Regions from separate parts of the Homo sapiens genome. Here regions 2 and 3 are each linked to region 1. The links are contacts of gene promoters, found by promoter capture Hi-C in blood cells and fetal thymus (Javierre and others, 2016). All regions are on one chromosome and are shown on one strand. Each heading gives the region's core, a stretch centred on a gene start or on the middle of the fragment in contact. The rest is flanking DNA. Distances are from core to core; before and after follow the strand shown.

Region 1 (2,721 bases), core at 20-2,519:
AAGGTGACGCGAGCGCCCCCAGCTCAGGCCGTCCAGGCGGCACCTCTAGCCCCCGTGGCTCAGCCCCTCCCCCCGCCCCCGCGCGCCGCCTAAGGTCCCCGCACGCCCACAGATCTGCTCCCGATTGTTCATCTGCCGTGGGGTGCTGGCTGCCCCAAGCCAAGTTCATCCCCGTATTCCGCAGTCCCCGTGGGCCCAGCCCGGGGCGCTCCCCGCGACGCTCTGGAGAAAAGTCTTCCCAGTTCTAGAACCCAGGCGGAAGGGGAAAAGCCCACTAAGAGAAAGGGTCAGAGGGTCGGCTGATGGCTTTTGCTGCCCTCATCGCCATCTAAGATTACCTCGGTAGCTTATTTACTGCGATTGGTCCCTCTCCCCTCTGAGCTTCACAGCCTCGGGTCTGCTTCGCCTGGCCTGGCGCACAGCAGGCGCCCAAAAGGTTTTTGCTGAATGAAGGCGTTGTAACGTAGGAAGTGCAGGCGCTGACAAAGAGCCTCAGCCCCGCGGGCTCCCCTGCTCTCCAGCCCTCTCTTGCTCTCTCTTAGACGCCAGACAGGCGCTTCGGGAATGTATGTGGGAGAGTTTGAAAATTCATGGTGTTTCTTTCAGGCTCTCTCAGCACTTACTGCGGCTACCTCTGCTCTCCCGCCACCTGCACGTCTGCAGAGGGATCCCCGCCGAAAAGTTGAGCCTAAGGCAGCTATGAAGGTATAGGTCCAGGTACCCAGCCCGGGGCTCTAGGCTGCTAGATTTGAATCTGCCTATCCCTGCCGGTCAAACCACACAAGCAAAAAAGAGCGTGGCGGTCGCTGCAGATGCGGCCCCTGCATCCCCGCTGCTGCCCACCCACCTCCTCTGGGAATCCCAGATAAAGTGCGACCCAGTCCCCAGACCTACCCTAGCGAACCCTGGGGTCACTGCATCTATTTTACCCCTACTTTCCTGGTCCCTCTCCAACAAAGGCGCCTACAAAGCAGCGGGCACCTGCAGCCGCTTCCCCGGGGGCAGGCGGGGCAAAGTTGCGCTTCCGAAAGGCTGCAAAAACTTCCCCAGGCTGCAGCGCCCGGCCACCAGTCGGGAAGAGAAATCCAGCAGCGGGGGAAAGTCTCCCCGCGGATGCCCGCTTCACCTCCCCCACTCACCGCTCCAGCCGTCGGACACCCTTGCCCTGAGTGGTGTCAGCACTGCAGCCGCCTCAGTGCGGGCGCCGCTCCGGCTCGCTTCCCCGGGCTGCCTCCGTCTGCCACTCTCGCCTGCAGCGCGCGGAGTGGTGACTCCTCTGAGCGTGTCAGCGGCGAGAGGAGGGGCGGGAAAGTGGCTCCCGGCTTGCACGCTGCGGTCCTCCTCCTCTCCTCCGCCTGCCTCCTCCCCCTGGTGCTGCAGTGCCGGGCGGCGGCGTGGCGAGAGTACCAGCGGTGCGCAGGGAGTCACGGCGCGCGGGGGAGGCGGGACCCGCGCGCCACTCGCGGTGCTCCGGCAAGTCGCGGTGCTGAGGCGCTGCTGCGGTGTGGGACTGGGGCAGGGGGCGGGGAAGGAGAGCCACCTCCAAGTGGTAGGTACTTCTGGAGAAGTCAGGGCTCTGAGTTTGTAGCAGGTGAAGGAGAGGGGCGGCAGTCCTTAATTAGTCACCAACTGTGACTGTGCGTTGCGCACTTGGCGGCGCCCCGGGTCAGGTCCAGCGTGAGACGCGAGGGAGTTCTGACTGCTGGACTCTGTTAGCACCGGACAAAAAGAGGGTTTGTATTCTATTTCCGGGCCTGGGACTGACTTGTTCACTTCGACTTGGCTTCCAGGGAGCAACCAGGCAGAGCTAGGTTGCCTACTTCCCCCAGCCCCCACCCCGACGCTGGAAGACAAGTCCAGAGGAAACTTGGGCACAGCAAGAGCAAACAGAAGAAAACTTCGCTGGGTTAAGTCTACTGTCTCCCCAATGCTACATAGGGCCAGACAGCTGGGCTCACAGGCAGATATTGAAAGTGGCCCCTTAGAGGGGAAACAACCAAATATGAGGGGGGGGGGGTGGAGAGAGAGATAGAGAGAGAGAGAGGAGGAGGAGGAAGAAAGAAAGAAAGAAAGAAAAAGAGAAAGAAAGAAAGGAGGAGGAGGGAGAAAGAGAGAGGAGAGAAGAGAGAGAGAGAGGGAGAGAGAGAGAGAATTTTGCTTGTGTTGTTAGAAACAAACATTTCTCCCCTTGGCGTGCAGGAGAGAGAATTTTGCTTGTGTTGTCAGAAACAAACATTTCTCCCCTTGGCGTGCAGGAGACCCCAACTCGAGCTTCACTGTTCCAAAGCGGTGGGCCAGGCGGCTGGAGAGAAACTCGCTCCCGTGAGGCCACACCCAGGCCTGGCGCACCCACCCCGCGGCAGCAGTGGAGGGCGTCGCCCTCCCGGGCCTTCCGACGCAGACCCTGCCATCCGGATGCTGCGGGAAGTAGGGCATCCTCACGTCCCTGACTCCTCCGGCTCCGCGCGCTCACGGAACCCAAGTGGAGTGGGAAGCGGTCACACAGGCGTGTGCCGTCCCCGAAATCGTTGCTCCTGTGGTGGTGACCCAAAGCGAGACAAAGCGCCGCGCCAATACGGGCTGCAGTGATTGGAACTCAAACACACACATCTCTCCGCGAATGTGTTCCATCCGTGTAAATATGCCTGGGTGATTGAATGGATGGCTGAATGAACGCTGTGTGGATAGAAATATAAATGTTACATGTATAATACAGGCGCC
Region 2 (2,700 bases), core at 50-2,549, 150 kb before region 1:
ACCATGCTGACCAGGCTGGCCTTCAACTCCTGAAGTGATCCACCTGCCTTCCTCCCAGAGTGCTGGGATTACAGGTGTGAGCCACCATGCCCAGGCCTAGTGTATTTGATTTTTAGGACTATGGACATGTTACTTTGATTTTCAATATTGACTATAAAAGGTAAAATGTATTCTGAAGCTATGAACTAACTTTTACGTGCTATCCATTGTGCCACAGAGCCAGTTTTGTTTGATAACTAAAGAGTTGTCTTAGAAGTCTTTGGGTATGCTGCTGACATGGTGTGTGGAGCATGTGCCAACAAAAAAGTTACCTCATTTTATCTTAGAGAAGAAATGGCTCAGCTAAGGCAAAAGATCAGTTTCTTTGTAAGAAAACATGGGAACCTCCACTGAGCTCTGCAAATACAATTTCTATATTAAGATCACTCTGTCTTCTACAATACATAAATTATTCAATTTCATATAGAACCGGTGGGGGGAAGACAACTCATATCACCAACTGTTCTCTATTTTAATCAATTTAGATGCAAAAAGAGTCATGCTCAGCTGTAGGAGACGCAATTAATGAAATGTACTAAGTAAGTGTGAGCTAAATGGAAAGGAAAAAAAATATGGATTCTTAAAATAATGATGTTTTTCTCTAGATCTGAAAATGAGTCCACAGATGTTTTATTATGCTTGAAAAAAAATCTTAATCCCTTTTTTTATTGCACTAAGCAAAGGCCATGTGAAATCGATAGCCTGGGATTTTCCATATAAGCATTCACAATACACCTCAGTGACAGCATTCTGTGTTCTGAGTTTCGGCCACACTACAAACATTTAATCACACTGCAGTACTCTTCCTATGTAAATGTTTACATTGATATGATTTTTATTATTTTTATTTGTAATTTCAATCTCTCTATAAATATACTTAAAATCATACTGCAAATGTCCCAGCTTCAGACATGTTTTCTTTCACCACTGATAAAGAAAGCTTTGCTGGCTTTCCCTTTACCAACCAATGTATATCATGCCTTAGAAAAATCCATAACATAACCAGAAAGAAAATCTAACGGGGCCTCATTTACCTTGCTGCCAAGACATTTCATGGCATTTCTGCATTTTACTAATGATATTCACTTATTCCTTGACTTTAGGCCTTTCAAAAATATCGTTAAATGTCTCATCACTACTTTACTTCCTTTTTTTTTTTTTTTTGCCCTTTTCTCCATGGATAATTCTCCCTTTGTCTTTTTTCTGATCCTTTTGTGAAAAAAAAAATCACTTAAAGCAAATCACAATTGGGTACAATCTTAAAAGGCCAAGTTAATTACGATAGGAAAAGTGGAATGTTAGCTGGCTTTAAAAGCAAAATGAAACACAAATGCATCGCCTTTAACTGTGTTAGTTCTTCCATCTAAACTGATCGAATGTCCCTGTCTTAGCAAACGCAGTAAATAATTCTGATGAAGTCTGGCCAGCATTTGTAGTTGCTCTAGCTTTTATCTCTTGATTACAGTCACTGTAGGATGAGCAGTGTGAAATCCCTCACTCGTGTCACCTTTCATTATAAATCAAGTAAGCACAGGCCACACTTTTGATTGGCTATGATATACTTCATAAAGGAAGCTTCAGTTTTTCACTGAAGTCTGCACCAGAGGGAGGCAGGGGAAAATGAGCAAATCAATAACCTTTTCCCTAAAATGAAACCATGATTTATAATGCTCTTGCAAAGGGCCAGAATGCTTGTTTTTAAGGACGGTGGCAGTGATTCTGTGGGCAACCAGGAGAAACAGAAGGCTGAAATCAGGTTGTTATGATGAAGTGGAATAATATATCAGAATAAAACTTCATCCCTTTGGATTCCTCCAATTCTGGAATCACAGTACCAAAGACATAAAGCATTTGATTCTTACTGAGTAAAAACTCCGGAAAACTTTCCTCTAAGAAAACTTGCCAGATCTTTTGTATAAGATCATTGAAAGAACACCTGGAATATGTTACACTGAGTTTGATAAAATGGACATGTTATTTATAAATCGTGCTTTAGAATTTGAGTGATAATTTTTTTCAGAAACATGCACAGACTGATATAATAGTGACCCTATTGCTCAGTGTGAACTGATACACTTAATTTGTTGCAGCAAAAAGAGAAAATATTAAATTGCTGTGTGAGGCAGTTCTAGGAACATGTCATAGGTGTTTCTGAATTACTAGTTCCTTCACATTTAAATATTTATTGAATAACACACCATATCATATACTATAAACTGATATGCTCAAATACATTATGGCTTATAAAAATCCATGACATATTAAGCAAATAACATTTGTTTAAAATAATTATATACATAGAAGTCTCCCTAAAAGAGCTTGTCCCTCCATGTTGTGAATTAATGCAATTTCATTGTTATGACATAAAAAATATTTCAATAAAAAACTTCCCAAGACTAGAAGAAATAAAATCAGCCATGAGCTCAGAGACACAACCAAAAAAGAGAATTTTAGACCAATATCCTTGATGAACATTGATGCAAAAATCCTCAATAAAATACTGGCAAAACGAATGCAACAGCACATCAAAAAGCTTATCCACCATGATCAAGTGGGCTTCATCCCTGGGATGCAAGGCTGGTTCAATATACGCAAATCAATAAATGTAATCCAGCATATAAACAGAGCCAAAGACAAAAACCACATGATTATCTCAACAGA
Region 3 (2,700 bases), core at 83-2,582, 170 kb before region 1:
CTAGAGGCAGGTAGAAGTTCAAATGCAATTTTAGAAACTTACAACCCCGATCAAGAGGAACTCGTTCATTAAGTCTGTTTAACAAGTTTTTTGGCCTTGTGAGAGCAAAATGAAGATGTAAACTAGACAGTGTTTGTAAGTTTTATGAAGGTCTGTATAAGGAAAATATAATGACATTTTAAAGCGGGGGGCAGATTAAAAGATGATTTGGTAGCAGGCAGGATTCTTGCTGGGAGATGAATTTCCCTGGAAACTGCTCTCTTTCAGAGCTCAATTTGCACAAAGGCAAATCAAAGTGAGTTTTTAAAAGTACCACATAAGCCCTCTGATAGACTGAATTTACAGAAGTAACAAAGGCAGGAAAAAGCTTCTGCAGAAAATTAAGAGTGATGGACACAAGTCACAAAGCTAAAACGTTTAAGGGTTGCTTCATTCTAGGGTGTTCTCAGAAACAGCGGCTTGTGATTAACCCTAGCCAACACTTGAGGGCACCCTGGGTTCACAAGAGACACACAGACGCTGCGCTATTAAAAGCCTCTTCCCTGATGACTTTCACTTGCATGCGTGAGTGGATGTTCCAAGCAATTCAGACTCTGGGGTTGCCCTGAAAGTGTCAAACCTGGGGGCCACAGAAGTGACAGTGATTTTTCTTTCCTCCAGGGCTCGCATTCACTCAATGAGTCTGCATTCTAAGTCAATTGCTGCATTCTTAAATTCAGCCTGGAAAGGTACTCCCCCAGGGGACAGATACAGACTGGAAGGCCAGCCCCACCCTCTAGCTCTGAGGGCCAGAGACTCAGGCAGAGCAGGCAAAGCACAAAGTGGCCTTGGTGAAAGTCTTAAGAACCCAAGGGTCAAGCATGTGCCCTTGAGAGCAAGGGCTGCAGAGAAGAAATGTTTAATGGGGCATTTTTTGCCTTGCATTTCATAAAAACAACCTAGCACATATTTTGCATTCTGTCCCCTTTATTGATTTTTAAAAAGGCATCAGGCAAACTGGCCTGACACTGTATTTCCTTTCTATGGAGATTGTAAGAATCTGAGCCCTCTTCCCCCAGAAGGGCTGAGATGGGAGCCAAGTTGAAGGAAGAGGCAGGAAGAACTGGGCATTTGGTGGGAGGTGGCTGCGGAGATGAGAGTCTCAGGTGAGGCAGTCCCTCCTCCAGTGGCCCAGTGGCTCAGCAGAACCTGAGGGGTGAGGGGGGCGCATAAGGTGGCCAGGCGTGACCACTCTGATAACGATTTCACCAGGTGAGGGGCTTGGCTTTCACAGGCACGGTGCTGACATGTAAGGGTTACTTGATGGCAACCCACGGACTGGGATTTGGTAGGGAAAATCTAATAGAGCAAAGGGATGCCTGGCTAGACAGACAGAGATCCAAGCTAGGACAGTGGGGCCAAAGGACCACTCTAGGGCCACAGTTAAGAAGGAAATGTGATACATTCCTGAAGGACTAGTGAGAAAAGGACTCTAGAACCAGGGACAAAGGAAAGGGACAACCATGGACATTCTGGGGTGGAGGAAGACAGGGTCCCTGCATGGGAGGCTTGGGTGACATGGGAAGATGGTCTCCAGACCGGCTGATCCTGTCTCCAAACCACGTGCTATCATTATAACCAGAATGCGTTTGTGAATTCCAGTCTGGGAAAACAGACAGATTCAAAAGAGTGAGCTAGAAACATATACTTTATGATTTTGATAATGCTTTATGGTTTTAAAAATCCCTGGCAGGAAAATAAATTTATCTGCAAAACAATCTTTGGCTACCTTGATGTATTAGAAATTACTGGAGAGATCCACAGAGCTTTTTAATGATATTAAGAGTGATCATTAATATTATATGAATAACTGTTCTTCTTTCCATAGGACAGAATAATAGGGAAAAGCTCAAAATCTTAGGTTAACAGAGTATTTCCTGACAGTGAGTATTAAAAAATGTAGACAAAGTAAAATCCATTTGGGGGTGGGGTGGAGAGAGGATTTATAAAAAATAAATATAAATCAACACTTAGAGTCTCATTTGTACCAGGAAAAGGGGTGGACCCCAGCCAATATGCCTGTCTCAGATGCTTTTGATCATTTTCTTCTACCCTCAGATAGCAATGTGATTGTTTCTTGGTTACAATAATAATACATGTCTATGTGGCAAGCAATACAGAAAATAAAAGAAGTAAATAACTCCAAGTTTCATCACTCAGAGATAAACATAATTAACATTTTGGATTTAGTACAATTATTAGTATTTAATTAAGCCATGAGAAGATTTAGTGACAGTCTTGGGGAAAGTAGAAGCTTCATTCATTAAGATTTTTGAAATCTGAATTATGGTTCAGAACACATCAGAGGCAGTCTGTGTATTTATTTCACATTGAATGTTTGGGCATATCTATGTCAGATGTTACCTTCCATGCCTGGAAATTTCCATGGAAAATAGGCAGTTCATAAGGGCTAAAAGAGTGAGATCAAGTGAGTGACACCATTGTAAAGCTAAACATGGAGGTTTGAGTAATGTTTGCCTTCTGTCTCACTCCAGCTGGGGCTCTCAGAACCACTTCCACCGACACTCTCAAGGAATAGATGGAAAAGTAGGGATGCAAATAATGCTGTTATTATGCCACATTGGCTGGCTGGATGTGTAGATGCATTACATTTATTTTTAAATTTTTAATATCTCTCTCTCTCTCTCTATATATATATAT

Evidence for each region. Contacts are between HindIII fragments. The CHiCAGO score rates a contact against its expected background, and 5 or more counts as called.
Region 2: a fragment that was not itself captured here is called in contact with the fragment with the promoter of SV2C in region 1 in 2 of 17 cell types (M1 macrophages and M0 macrophages); the score reaches 5.3 in M1 macrophages.
Region 3: a contact is called between a fragment that was not itself captured here and the fragment with the promoter of SV2C in region 1, in 7 of 17 cell types (M0 macrophages, M2 macrophages, M1 macrophages and 4 more). The highest score is 20.1, in M0 macrophages.

The regions. Positions count from the first base shown.
Region 1 is chr5:76,081,931-76,084,651 of GRCh38, reverse strand. It overlaps SV2C (synaptic vesicle glycoprotein 2C), which reads right to left and starts at 1,269. Exons shown (of 13, transcript NM_014979.4): 1 at 1,140-1,269. It overlaps SV2C-AS1 (SV2C antisense RNA 1), which reads left to right and starts at 1,235. Exons shown (of 2, transcript NR_183290.1): 1 at 1,235-1,733; 2 at 2,256-2,721. RefSeq lists an enhancer at 1,905-2,458. The HindIII fragment of the contact is 14,928 bases long and covers 1-2,721 here.
Region 2 is chr5:76,233,684-76,236,383 of GRCh38, reverse strand. The region is part of intron 4 of SV2C (synaptic vesicle glycoprotein 2C); the gene reads right to left. Among named protein-coding and RNA genes, the nearest start is that of SV2C-AS2, 77 kb to the left of the region's middle. The HindIII fragment of the contact is 635 bases long and covers 982-1,616 here.
Region 3 is chr5:76,254,246-76,256,945 of GRCh38, reverse strand. The region is part of intron 4 of SV2C (synaptic vesicle glycoprotein 2C); the gene reads right to left. Among named protein-coding and RNA genes, the nearest start is that of SV2C-AS2, 56 kb to the left of the region's middle. The HindIII fragment of the contact is 1,926 bases long and covers 370-2,295 here.